3 separate regions of the Homo sapiens genome follow, and all the other regions are linked to region 2. The links are contacts of gene promoters, found by promoter capture Hi-C in blood cells and fetal thymus (Javierre and others, 2016). All regions are on one chromosome and are shown on one strand. Each heading gives the region's core, a stretch centred on a gene start or on the middle of the fragment in contact. The rest is flanking DNA. Distances are from core to core; before and after follow the strand shown. Region 1 overlaps DCAF7 (DDB1 and CUL4 associated factor 7). Region 2 holds the start of CYB561 (cytochrome b561). Region 3 overlaps MAP3K3 (mitogen-activated protein kinase kinase kinase 3).

What was found. Contacts are between HindIII fragments. The CHiCAGO score rates a contact against its expected background, and 5 or more counts as called.
Region 1: a contact is called between a fragment that was not itself captured here and the fragment with the promoter of CYB561 in region 2, in 3 of 17 cell types (M0 macrophages, endothelial precursors and M1 macrophages). The highest score is 8.0, in M0 macrophages.
Region 3: a fragment that was not itself captured here is called in contact with the fragment with the promoter of CYB561 in region 2 in 4 of 17 cell types (M0 macrophages, naive CD4 T cells, endothelial precursors and 1 more); the score reaches 6.1 in M0 macrophages.

The regions. Positions count from the first base shown.
Region 1 is chr17:63,576,834-63,581,462 of GRCh38, forward strand. It overlaps DCAF7 (DDB1 and CUL4 associated factor 7), which reads left to right. Exons shown (of 7, transcript NM_005828.5): 2 at 1,637-1,795; 3 at 2,504-2,615; 4 at 2,992-3,110. Among named protein-coding and RNA genes, the nearest start is that of TACO1, 22 kb to the right of the region's middle. The HindIII fragment of the contact is 1,012 bases long and covers 1,925-2,936 here.
Region 2 is chr17:63,444,569-63,448,836 of GRCh38, forward strand. It overlaps CYB561 (cytochrome b561), which reads right to left and starts at 1,738. Exons shown (of 6, transcript NM_001915.4): 1 at 1,677-1,738. RefSeq lists silencers at 1,435-1,994, 2,165-2,354 and enhancers at 2,324-3,137, 2,495-2,634, 3,138-3,950. The HindIII fragment of the contact is 2,186 bases long and covers 810-2,995 here.
Region 3 is chr17:63,676,821-63,681,560 of GRCh38, forward strand. The region is part of intron 6 of MAP3K3 (mitogen-activated protein kinase kinase kinase 3); the gene reads left to right. Among named protein-coding and RNA genes, the nearest start is that of LIMD2, 21 kb to the right of the region's middle. RefSeq lists an enhancer at 1-910. The HindIII fragment of the contact is 1,353 bases long and covers 2,262-3,614 here.

The sequences.
Region 1 (4,629 bases), core at 1,181-3,680, 130 kb after region 2:
AGCCCAGGAGGTTGAGCCTGCAGTGAACCACGATTGCACCACTGCACTCGAACCAGTGCAACAGAGTGAGACCCTATCTCAACAACCCAAAATTATACTGCCACATTGCACATAATGCAATATTATTCAGCAGTAAGAAAAGAAGCAACTACTGATACACACAAGAACATGGATGAATCTCAAGAGCAGTGTACTGATGAAAGTAGCCAGACACAAAGACTCAAGACCATCTGATTCTATTTATATCGTATTATGGAGAGACAAAACCATAGATCAGTGGCTACTTGGGGTAGGTATGAGGGGTTGACTGCGGAGGAGCCTGGGAGAGCTTTCTGGGTTAATGGAAATGTTTTATATCTTACTGTGGGGGTTATACAACTGTACATTTGCCAAAACTCATTTAACTGTACACTTGAGTGGGTTTTATTATATGCAACTATACCTAACTTTGGGGGGAAAATGTCTGGAAGATACTGGTGTGTCTGAGACTGAGGTCAGAAAGATGAGTAGAAGGAATTTTATTTTGTGTTGTCTGGTTAGTGCTTTTCCCCTTATTGTGGATGTTTACCAAATATCCCCACTATTCCATCTTCCAGTTGGAAGTTCATAAGCAAATGTACAGTTAGTGTCCCATTGAGCCAGATTGAGTTTGACAGCAAAGATTGGAAGTTAATGGTGGGCTAAAATTGACTCTAAGAAAAAGTGATCAGAGCTAGGTGGGACTTTCTCATCAATGGCGCCGACTTTTTTTTTGCCAGTCACAGTGGTTTGGGCTCTCAAACGGTCATTTGACATACCTTTATGTGTAAACATAATGAGCCAGTGTTGAGTTTGGGGTTGGTGAGGGTTGTGCACTATTGGATTTTTAAGTGAGCATTAGTTTGTTTAATGAAATTGCAAAGGGTGTTTCATATTCCTGGCCCCTGAGCACCAAATGTCCTCAGCACTTCAGTCATTGTGGCAGCCAAGAACCACCCCTGGTCATTTTCAAATACCTTAGGGGTTTCAGGGGAAGGTGTGCCTGGCCTGGCAGATAGTGCACTTATGTAGTTGGAGTCAAGAATGCAGACTTGAGTCAGAAAACCTGTAATCTCTGTCTCCTACTGGCTTTGCAGTGTTGAGTGTAACCACCCCTTTGAGTCTGGGTGTCCTTGTCTGCCAGAGGATGGTTGGACTAGATACCCTCTCATGGCAATCGTTTTTGATTCTGCAGTTTAGTGTAGTACAGTGTCAAGACTTCTGTCACTGGCCAGGCATAGTGACTCATGTCTGTAATCCCAGCACTTTTGGGAGGCTGAGGTGGGAGGATCAGTTGAGCCCAGGAGTTCAAGGCCAGCCTGGGCAACATGTGAGGCCTTGTCTCTACAAAAAATGAACAAAATTAGCTGTGTCTGGTGGTGCATGCCTCTAACCCCAGCTACTTGAGAGGCTGAGGTGGAAGGATCACTTGAGACCAGGAGGTGGAGGCTGCACTGAGCTGTGGTTGCACCACTGCACTCCAGCCTGGGCAACAGAGCAAGATCCTGTCTTTAAAACAAAAAACAAACAAAAAAAACCTCTGTCACTGACCAGGGATCTAATGTATTTGCTGTACTGCTCACAAATGCTTATGTGGCTCAACTTTGGTATGTTACAGGTTCAGCTTGTTGGTTTAGATGAGGAGAGTTCAGAGTTTATTTGCAGAAACACCTTTGACCACCCATACCCCACCACAAAGCTCATGTGGATCCCTGACACAAAAGGCGTCTATCCAGACCTACTGGCAACAAGCGGTGACTATCTCCGTGTGTGGAGGGTAAGCGGATGCTTTATTAGCAGCCAGACAAGTGGGCTTTCTCAGCCTCAGCTGTTAGCAGTGAAAAGTCACAGAACAGACAGGGGTCAGAGGCAGCGAGTGTCATTGCAGCACAGGAGAAGCAAGCGAAGCTTAAATGGACTGGCCTCGTTTGGCTCAGCAGATTTTCTAGTATATCAAGTCAAGATTCCATGAAGTCTGGCTGCTGGCTGCAGTCAGCTCAGTCAACCCGAGGTGATGATGACGGCCTTCAGTGGAGGTGGGAATACTTGGGAACTCATATTCTGTTTGCAGCCAAGGTATTTTTGAGTAAACTAAATGAAATACCAGGCCATTGATTCTGATAAAGTGTGTGAGTGGATCTTGGAGGCTTCCCTCCACCCTCAGCTGAGCTCATCAGCAGCAGCGTCCTCTGTAGCATGGGCGTGGCCTTAGTACACCTGTGCAGAGGTTCCAGGCTGGGCAAAGTGAGAAGACCTCTCCTCTAGGAAGGTGCAGGGATGAAAATGTAGAAAACAAAGCTGGGCAGAGGAGAAAGTATGGGAAAAAGTAGCATTCAGGGAGTCCTGGGTTTATTACTGTTTTTGATAAAAATGTTTTCCCCTCATGTCTTATGTTTGCTAAGATATTTTCTAAACAGGGATTTTTTAAAAGACTTTTTATGAGGATAAGACTGGCTGATTTTTTTTAAAATTCTTGTTCCTTCAGGTTGGTGAAACAGAGACCAGGCTGGAGTGTTTGCTAAACAATAATAAGAACTCTGATTTCTGTGCTCCCCTGACCTCCTTTGACTGGAATGAGGTGGATCCTTATCTTTTAGGTAAGGGAGTTAGGGAGTATGTATTTCAGCTGGAAGAAGCCAAAATAAATTTTCTCAGATGTCACACTGGGCCATACATCCTAGAACAAGGCTCAGTGGGAAGTAGGCTAGGCGTGGAATGTGGTTATTTATTAATTCCTTTGTGTGGGTGAGCTTTCCGTGTGTATAGATCTTGTCTCTCCAGTTAGAATCTAAGGTCCTACGGTGAGGACTGAAGACTTGACTGCCTCGGTGGCTCTGCCGGTAGCCCCCACCTTGTTTTCTGTAGTCTTTATGGTATGCTGCTCCCTGGGCTGAGCAGATGAGTAAACACAAGAGGGAAGCTTGCATGAGAACCTTGGTCCCGTCAGCCCTGACTTGCACTGGTTGTTTGCAGGTACCTCAAGCATTGATACGACATGCACCATCTGGGGGCTGGAGACAGGGCAGGTGTTAGGGCGAGTGAATCTCGTGTCTGGCCACGTGAAGACCCAGCTGATCGCCCATGACAAAGAGGTAAGATGCTTTTCCATTTCGTCTTTCCTCAAATGCTTCCTGTGCCTTCCGCACAGGAAGAGGTCAGCTTGTTCTCTCATTGTTCTGCAATTTATGTAGAAAATCATAACATAACATCTTCTTGTCTAAATTGACAATAGTAATGTATCAAAAACGGGAAAACAACACTATTGTAAACTAATGCTTTTTTTTGGCTAATGTAAATGACCTATTCTACGGTCTGTCATTGTTCTTTTCATGCCAGAGGTTGCTTTTTTTAAATAACAAAGTCTCTTATAGAGGAGCTGGGAACTGATGTGATTAAAAAATAACTTTAGAGTAATACTTATCTTGAAACAGATTAGATTTGGGGAGGAAAGAAGGGAGACAGGAAGAGAAAAAATTTTCTGAGAGACAAACGTAATTATTCATTTTTCTCTATAAATGTTTTACCAAATCCTAGTATGTTCACTTAATCTTTATACTTTCATTACTGTTGGCAGTGGAGGCAATGGAATATATTTTATTTTGATGGCGATGCTTCTGTGTTTATTGGGAAAACTGAGAAGAGCTATTTGTGATTGCTTTTTTTTTTTTTTTTTTTTTTTTTTTTGAGACAAAGTTTTCCTCTTGTTGCCCAGGCTGGAGTGCAATGGCGCAATCTGGGCTCACTGCATCCTCTGCCTTCTGGGTTCAAGCAATTCTCCTGCCTCAGCTTCCGGAGTAGCTGAGATTACAGGTGCCCGCAACCACCCCTGGCTAATTTTTGTATTTTTTAGCAGAGACAGGGTTTCACCATGTTGGCCAGGATTGTCTCGAACTCTCCTGACCTCAGGTGATCCACCCACCTTGGCCTCCCAAAGTGCTGGGATTACAGGCGTGAGCCACTGCGCCCGGCCAATTGCATTTTAATCAAAGCATTCTTCTCAGTGATTTTGGAAAATCCCCATAAGTCTTTTCCTCCTACAGCCATTGCATGCTCCTGGTACTCTCATCTCCTGTGGGTACTATTTCCTGTTCTTTTCTACCTTACCCTGCACAGCTAGGGGTATTAATATCTATACAGATAAAAGGAATGCCTTGATCTTAGGTCAGAAACTTGAGGTTGTCAACAGCATAGGAAGATGTGACCCAGGTTATCATTCTTAGTAAGGGGTTGTCTTTGGCTTTCTGTACTCCTGAAGGTAAGCCCTGTTACAAGACTTCTAGAGTTGACTGCTGCTAAACCAGGGGTCAAATGAAGAGTTTGTCCCACAGAGAGGACCAGTAAGGAACTTCTGGAAACCCTCTTGGCATCAAGTTGAACAAGCGGCTACATTTTAGTTATATGACAACTTAGCCTGCTGTTGTCTGTTAGGTCCAACCCAGAAAATGGGAACTACTCTTAAGTATTTGAACTGCAGGGATTTAATCCAGGGGCTGCTTATACAGAAGATGGTAAAGCTGAGAAGCCACATAGGTAGCAGTGAGGTCATCCATAGAATGGGAGCAGCAGGAAGCTGCAGCTGCCTATAGGCCAGAGGGACCATGGGAGGAGGCA
Region 2 (4,268 bases), core at 488-2,987:
AGCCAGATGGCAGCCGTCTCTAATAAATCTACACTCCATTGCTGTCCACCATTAGCCCCTGCACACCAAGCAGAAGCTCCTGGGGCTGGAAGAACACAGGATGGTCTGCTTTTAATCTGTGACATTGTATATTCCCAAAATTCATTTATGAATTGTTCAGACAGTAGAGTGCTTTTTCCCAGTGAAGCTACGCTTTCAGAGGGGGTTAATTTCTCATTCCCCTCCACCAATGCCATCTAATGCCACTGAACCATCCCAGTATTAGCAGGAGCCCAAGCTCTGCCTGCCAAGGAAAAGTGGTGAGGGCAGAAAAGTAGTAGGACAAGGCTGGGCACGGTGGCTCACGTCTGTAATCCTAGCACTTTGGGATGCCAAGGCGGGCAGATCACTTGAGGTTAGGAGTTCGAGACCAGCCTGGCCAACATGGTGAAACCCCGTCTCTCCTAAAAATGCAAAAATTAGCTGCGTGTTGTGGCACACACCTGTAATCCCAGCTACTAGGGAGGCTGGAACAGGAGAATCGCTTGAACCCGGAAGATGGAGGTTGCAGTGAGCTGATATTGCCCTCTGCACTCCAGCCTCCTGGCAACAGAGCAAGACTCCATCTCAAAAAAAAAAGAAGGAAGGAAAGTAAGGAAAGCAAGAAAGCAATAAAGCAAGAAAGAAAAGGAGTGGGACAAGCAGGGTGGTTCCACCTCCAGCTCTAGGAGGCTCCCTCATGCAAGGAGGTGGGGCTGCCACCGCCTCGTATTTTCCTGCCTCCATCAAATTTCACCGGGAGAAATCCAGGCACCTAGAGGAGGTGGCAAAGCTTTTTTTTTTTTTTTTTCATTAGCTATTAAACCAAAGGGGCAGAATCTAGGCGCCCTAGATGTAACTTCATTTACGGAGTCAGAAAATCCACAAAGGCTGCCAAGGTGGAATGAATGAGAGGAGGACGACCAGAAAGGAGAAGTCTGGGAAGGGGACCCCAGATCCACACGGATGATCCTCGCTCCGTGATACAGTCGGGGACAGGGCAGGGAGGGAGGGAGGGAGGGTGGCCCTGCCATCTCCCAGGTGTCAAGGTGGCGGCAGCTCCGCCCTCAGCGCAGTTGGCACCGGCCTGACCCACCACAGGGCCACCGAGGCCACCGAAGCCATGGGGCTTTCCCACTCGGGAAACTCCCACCCTCGCGCTCAGAAGCTGGGGGCGTCGGGAGACACAGGCGGGGACCTGCGGCTCCACGTTGCAGCCCGGGCCCTGCTCGGGGCAAGAGGCGGTGGCTCCGGTTTCAGATTTCAAGAGGGCAGCCGTGGCAAAGGCTGGTTGGTCCATTTGCACCCTACCTTGCTCTAGAACGCGGCGCAGGAGCAAAGATCCAAACTCGGGGTCACCAGCAAGCGGGGGTCTCGGTTCTAACTTCAGCAGAGACCCGGCACCCGGGCAGGCCAGGGCAGGGGCCGCCTGGACCGGGAGAGGCTCGGCTCCGAGAGGGCGGGCGAGCCCTGCAGCCCTCGGGCCCAGGGTGCGGGTCGGCGCCGCAGTCCAGTGCGCGGCCGCAAGGGGCAGGTGCGAGGCCGGCTGCTACTCGGGAGCCCCGCGCTGTCCCTCCCTGCGCAGTCAGGGCTCACCTGGGCCGCCCCCGCCCCGCACCCCTGCGCGCTCCGCTCCCACCCCCAGCCCGGCCTCCTACCTTGCCTACCCGAGCGTCCCTTCAGCCTCCCCGCGCCGCGCCCGGGTCGCTTGGCCGGTTCTGCGGGCCGTGGCGCGACGGCGTCGCCATGGCAACCGGGCGGCGGGCTGGGCGGTGTCTCCGGGACCGGAAGTGGCGTACGCGGCCCCCGGGGCTGCCCCGCACGTGCCAGGTCCCCGCGGTTGCGGCCACGCTCGGGACCGGGCCCTGCCAGCTCCGGGCCCGCACGTGGGCGAACCGCGGCCACCGTGAGCCCGGCCTCGCGACCTCCCTCCGGGGCCCCCATGATCGGGGGTGCGTGGGATCTGCGGCCTGCGGGGGTGGAGGGCCGGGAGCTCCCCCGGGCCTGCCTCGAGGGCCGCGGGATTCGTCCTTGCGAGCCCCGACTGCGCACGGAAGGACCTGGGGTCGGCCAGGCCTGGGGGATGGGACGGGCCCCGAGGAGAGCGGGTGCCAGGGGCGAGACCCGCCGCCCTTCCCCGGCTTGGTCCCGCGCTTCCTGATTTTCTCGCTCCACGCCTCCCATTCTGCCCTCCACCTTCTTCCCTGCCCCGCCCTCGCCCTGCCCGGGCCCAGGAGGCCACTAGATGTCAGACCCGGTTCGGGCCTTGGCCACGCCGCCGCTCCGGGAGCCCTGGGGGCACCTCCCCAGCCCCCACGGGGGAGACGATACTGCCGGGAAGGCCCGGACTAGCCCCCGCCCCCGCAGAGTAGCCTTCGGGGAACACCGATTCCACCAGGCTCTCACGAAAGCCGAGAGCTTGCCGTCCGCAGCTTCCCCTGCCCAAAGCGCAGAGAAACGAGGGCGCCGAGGCCAAGACCAAGACCGGGAGCCAGCCCCTTCGGAGCCCGGTCCAGGCCCCCGGTCCAGGAAGTGCTGTGGGTAGATAAGGGGCCCAGCTCAGACTTCCTACAAGCTGGGAAGAAAGGGTTCTTTCCTGTCTGATGCCGGGCCAGATGTAGCAAGCGCCTAGGGGTAGGAGGGAAATGGGGTTTCCTCCCCGCAGAGGGAAACCGGCCTCCATTCAGGAACGCCCTCCCCCACCTGCCCTCCAGGCACCGAGGTTCTGGGAGGCCGGGGGGCAGGGAGACCTGCTTACTTGAATGCGCTTTGTGTATTGCCTGTGTATTGCCACAGGCAGTGGGCAAGATAGGCCCTGGGGATCCAGTACTCGCTTAGTACACAGAGAGCAGTCTCCAGCGCCAGGCGAGACGCACAGGCGTGTCAGCTGCATATGGCACACGGTGGCACATGGCACACCTTCCACGAGCAGACACAAGGGGCCGACACAGCAGGGCCCACCCCCTCAGAGGGACCAAGCTTAAACCCTCCAACAACAGAAAATTTGTAGAGTATCTTTCAGTTGGAGGAAATTAATGGATAATTTAAAGTAAGAAACAGTTTCCTTAGCGTGCTAACAGGCAGAATCCCTGTGGATTGAAGGTGGAACTGAGCCATGTCCTTTGTTTGGTCTGTGGATTTAGACGTGGAGGAGGAGTCCTGACCGGCTGAGCAGGGCTGAGTTCCCTCGTGAGAGCCCCGGGCCTTCAGCCCCTTCCAAAGCCAGGAGAGACTCCTGCTGAGGGGTGATAGGGGCCCTTTGGCTTCCCCCTCACCCCACGGCCCAGCAGCACGGGGCTGCAGGCTTTTCCCTTAGGAGGAAGAGCAGCCGCCTCCCTGCCAGCAGTGTTCTCAAGGGCCTGCTTCAAGTGGGGAGGGGTGGGTGAGGGTGTTCTGACTGAGGGAGAGGCCTGCACACCCGCTGCATGGGGGGGCTCATGGCTACACCTAACCCATTTTAAAGAACAGGCAACGCCACCAAACTGCTCTCTGGCACTAGGGCCCAGAGGCCTTGCCCCAGCTCCCAGATGTCCCAACCCAGGACGACAGACACCCAGACTAACTACCTTGCAACCCTGTTCCTGCTGCCGAAGCTCCTGCCTTGGAAGCCTGAGAAGTGTGCAGTCCTTCAGCTTGGGAAAGGTGGGAAAGGAGAGGACCCCTCCTGCCCTTTCTTGAGTGGCACAAGATGAGTTCCAGGGCCTCCTGAGTTGTGCTAACGCCTGTAATCCCAGCACTTTGGGAGGCCGAGGCGGGCGGATCACCTGAGATCGGGAGCTAGAGACCAGCCTGACCAACGTGGAGAAACCCCATCTCTACTAAAAATACAAAATTAGCCGGGCGGGGTGGCACATGCCTGTAATCCCAGCTACTCCGGAGGCTGAGGCAAGAGAATCACTTGAACCCAGGAGGCAGAGGTTGTGGTGAGCCAAGACCGCGCCATTACACTCCAGCCTGGACAACAAGAGCAAAACTCCGTCTCAAAAAAAAAAAAAAAAAAAAAAGGAAATGCTGACTGTGTTTCCATGTTTCCACTCCCTTCCCACATCGCAGAACCACGCTAGCCTTTCTGTTTTCAGATGCACCAAGTTCACTCCCACCTCTCCATGGAATGTTCTTTCCTGGATCATCTCTGGTCACATTCTCTCAAATCTCAGCTCAAACATCACCTCCTCAGGCCTTCCCTGACCATCCAGAGGGCAGCTGGGGCAGGGATTAGGAGGTAGGAGTGCTCCTGGATTCCGCGTGCT
Region 3 (4,740 bases), core at 1,688-4,187, 230 kb after region 2:
GGGGCCTCTGCTAACACTGTGGCAGAAAAACCAAAGGCTTCTGTGACTGCTCAGGAACAGCAGGAAGCCTGTTAATCTCATAGAAGTGCATGTGATTAGCTGAATCTAAAGAAAGTCTTAGAAATACAGCTTTTAGCCAGTTAGCTTCTCAAGTACAGGAAGGCACAGTAGAAGGGTGGAATCCATCTTACGCCTACCCCATATATCTGCCACATAGAGTGAAGGGTACAAATGGGATTCTACGGAGTTCCTACTGTGAGATGGGGTTATGCGGATATGTACCTGTGCCAGCACATTTATAACTTCCGAAAGAAATTATGAGGTAGATAGTTCTCCCCATTTTTGCAGTTGAGGAAATTGAGGTGAGAGCTTAGATCATTTAGCTAATGAGTGGCAAAGCCTGATCTGAACCCACGTATATCTAATTTCAAAGCTTAGTCTTTTCTCCGTGCACCTCACTTACCTCCTTAGAGTTGCTTCTGCTGCTGACAAATGTTGCTGACATGTGGATTGAATTGCCATAGAACTTGTGGACTACCAAGATGTCATCCAAAGCTAAAAGTAGGAAGCAGGCAGTAGGCTAATTTTTATAAGCAAAGGGTTAAATAGTGCTCTCTCTGTGTTTTGTGACATGATAAGACTTAGGAAAACCATCCTTTTTTTACAGTTGCACTGGAATTTTGTGTTACAGTAGCAAGGGAAACAGCCAGGTACATGGGTCTGTGAGGTCTGGGTCACTGGAAAGTGGAGTAGTTCCCTTGGTCCAGATTTCCCCTAAACCTCCATCTTGTCTTTGCCTACAAACCCTCTGTTGGCCAAGCGGCATTTTGTATTCCTGGCCTCTGACTCCCAAATGACCATGGAGAAAACAACTCTGAATTTGAGCTGCATGAAACATGCCACTGTGGATGTGGCTCACACCTGTAATCCCTGCACTTTGGGAGGCTGAAGCAGGAGGATCCCTTGAGCCCAAGGAGTTTGGGGCTACAGTGAGCTATGAACACGCCACTGCACTCCAAAGAAAGAAAGATACATGGCACTGTGCTTCCCCTGTGCTGCCAGGAAGTCCCCACGTTAGCCTCCCTCCCACACCTGGCAGGCTGTCATATTTCCTTGTGGATGGGATCTCCATCCTCCATAGGGATTACTCATGGGGGACAGATGGCCTGGCCAGTTCAAGGAGAAGTTATGTCTTGTGCCACTGTGTTGAGCAGCATGCCTGCCCTTTTTGGAAATAAATTATGGTCCCCAAATTGCCTTGGCTGAACTGTATGAGAGTCACAAAGCCTGTTTTCTCGCTTCGGCCCCACCATAAAGTCACTTTATGGCTTTGGGGCTTGGGTTTCCCTCTGCGCAATGTGGATGATGATAATGCACCACCACTGCAGGGGTGTAGTAAGGGTTAAATGAGAGGTGACAATATTTTTTTAAGAAAAAAAAATTGCCTTGACTGATTTTATTGCTCTGTTAGTTCATGGTACAATATCCCTAAATTTACACTCAGAGTAACTTTAGTTTCTGTTAGGACTTAGAAAATAGGACAAATTCTCTTCCATGGGCTGTTTGAGACCATTGCAAAGGCATGGCTCAGATACCACTTTATCTCAGAATTGGTGGCCTCTACCCTGTGAGTGAGATGTTGAGACAGGAAATCCAGCAAAATTCTATGCCTGTTTTCAGAGCAATTTTGTTTCTGGCCTTTGCTCTGGAGTCAGGTGGGGAGGCCAGATTACTGAGGACCCCATGTTAGCTTTCCTGCCAGAGAGACATCCTTGGAGGGAGGCTGGGGTGATGTGTCCAAGAAGAGATTGGAAGTATTCTCCAATACCAGTTCAGTGGTGAATTCTCAAAATGTATTCAGCACAACCACATGAACCATATGTTCTGAACAACTGACTTAATATAGAAGAATTAAAGAGTCAGTTTCAACTGGGTGCAGTGGCTGACGCCTGTAATCCCAGCACTTTGGGAGGCTGAGACAGGCAGATCACCTGAAGACAAGAGTTCAAGACCAGCCTGGCCAACATGGTGAAACCCTGTCTCTACTAAAAATATAAGAATTAGCTGGGTATGGTGACGGCCACCTGTAATCCCAGCTATTCAGGAGGCTGAGGCAGAAAATTGCTTGAACCCAGGAGGCGGAGGTTGCCTTGAGCCAAGATTGTACCACTGCACTCCAGCCTGGGCAACAGAGCAAGACTCCGTCTCAAAAAAAAGAGTCAGTGTCAGTTTCTTAAAGGTCATTGAAAAACAATAGTTTAAGCTTCTTAGAAAATGTCTTTCAAAAAGCAACCCTCTGGCCAGGCATGGGGGCCCATGCCTTTAATCCCAGCACTTTGGGAGGCCAAGGCTTGAGACCAGCCTAGGCAACATAGCGAGACCCTGTTCCTAAAAGTGCACACACACACACAGAGCAAGCCTCCCCGCCATTCTTTTTTTCCATTAAGTATTTTTCTTCCTTCTGAGGGTCTTTGAAATAGTGGGAGTCTCTCTGGCTCAGGGAGTTTGTTGAGCTCCATCAGTCTGTCAGGCCCACCCTCTTTTCCGGGATGTTCTAAGACCCTGGACTGGGCTCTTGAGCACCCTCTGCTGTAGATGCTTAGTCCCTGGTGCACTACCTCTACTTCCAGGTACAGGCTGAGTGCTCCTGGCTCCACATGAGCTTTGTTGTTTTGTCTATGAGACAGGGTCGCACTCTATCACCTATGCTGGAGTGCAGTGGTCCAAACACGGCTCACTGCGGCCTCAACCTCCCAGGCTCAAGCAGTCCTCCTGTCTCAGTCTTCCAAGTAGCTGGGTCCACAAGTGTGCGCCTGGCTAATTTTTAAAATATTTTTTGTAGAGATGGGGTCTCACCATGTTGCCCATGCTGGTCTCAAACTCCTGGCCTCAAGCATTTCTCCTGCCTCTCGAAGTGTCGGGATAATAGGTGTGAGCCACTGCACCTGGCCACACATGAGTTTTTGAGCAATAGGAAATATATATACATATATGTATAAACATGTATACACACACACATACATAAAACTAAAACTGTGTATCTCAGATTTTCCATCTAAAACTGGTCTGGACTAGGGATCTATCATCAAGAAAGGAGAGAAGCCAGGCATGGTGGCACCTGCCTGTAGCTGAAGGGGGAGGATTGCCTGAGCCCAGGAGCTCAAGACTAGCCTGGGCAACAGAGTGAGACCCTGTCTCTGAAACAAAACAAAACAACAAAACAGAATAGAATGAGTCAGGTACTTCCCTAGGTCTCCAGCTACCAAACTTGGTCTCTCTTGCTTCCTTAGCCATTTCCACAGAGCATCTTGCCTGCAGTTCCATTTCAGAAAACCTAGTGCTACAGCCCCTGAACTAGACTGGAGAAACCAGCCAGCAAGGAAAGTAACCTGCATTGTTGAGGGATGGTACTACTCTATTCCTGGTGTCTGGGAATTGCTGGGTCGTGGGAGAGAGGTAAGGGGTGGTAGATAAGGGAATGGAGGGCTCTTGTGTCTCTGGTTTTCTAAACAACAGGATAAATTTGTTCCCTTCAGAACAGGAAAAGGGTTCAGGATAAGAGTCTTACGTTTAAGTTTTGAAGCTACAAGAAATATTTGTGTGGGTATAGTTAAAGCTTTTTTTAAACCTTCTGAAAATTGGCTCTTCTGGTTTGGTGAGCTTAGGAAGGAAAAAAGATGCAAACTTTTGGCCTCATTTTTGTCTTCTCTGATCATGGAAAGCAACACAGCCAGTCAGAAAAAGCTCTTGGGCTAGGAGGAAGGAGGACCTGATTTCTCGGACTCAAAATCCCTTATGGCAGAAAAACATTGCTCAGTGACTTACAAAGTGTGTCATTTGTAAGACTGCACACCTCTGTCATTCACTAACATTAGGATGATAAACCATTTCATCTTACAAGCTGATGTGGTGAAAGTACCTGTTAATTGGTTTTATAGTCTCTTATCTGTAAAACATAAATAATTGTTTTTGGGTGTTTTGGGTTTTTTTTTTTTTTAAGATTTAAGTTCCTTGAGTCTCCGTCTCCTCCTCTGTTAAGTAAAGCAAATGCTTACCTCTCAGGATTGTTGAAAGGATTAAGTGAAGTAACAAATGTAAAAATACCTTGTGGAATGATTGCCACTTAGCAGCCACTCAAAAAATATTTGCCAAACCTCTGTTGTAGAGATGTTGAAAATCAAATGAGGTTAATTACTGTGAATGTGTAACAAAAAGTAAAGCACCACATAAATGCAAGATAATATCATTACTCAGACCAACCTGAGCAACATAGTGAGACCCTGTCTCAATTTAAAAAAAAAAAAAAAAAAGGTAATATCATTACTCATAAGCCAGGAAGTGTGGGAGTGGGTAGGAATGGAGAAGCCTGCCTTTTGATCCTGGCCAGACCATCACGAAGGCCTTTTTACCTGATACAAGTAGAGAACAAATAAGGGGAGACACTGGCTGGGGGAACAGGGCAACAGAGAGAGATGCACAGGTATATTCAGTTACCTTTCCCTGGTCCCCACCCTCAAAATACTGCTTGGACCCAAAACTAAAGAGGACTAAGCTGATGTATTGAGCTGATGGGAGGAAATGGCATTAGTGCTCTAGAGGAAGAGAGAAGGTGACATTATGAAGGAGTAATTATATATAAGAATTTTTTTAAAAGCTAGTCTGATTGCCAGCTAAAATGGTCTCCTAGGGGTTATTCTGGTTTCTGTTTTGTGTCAAGGTTTTTTTGGTCGGATATGCCGT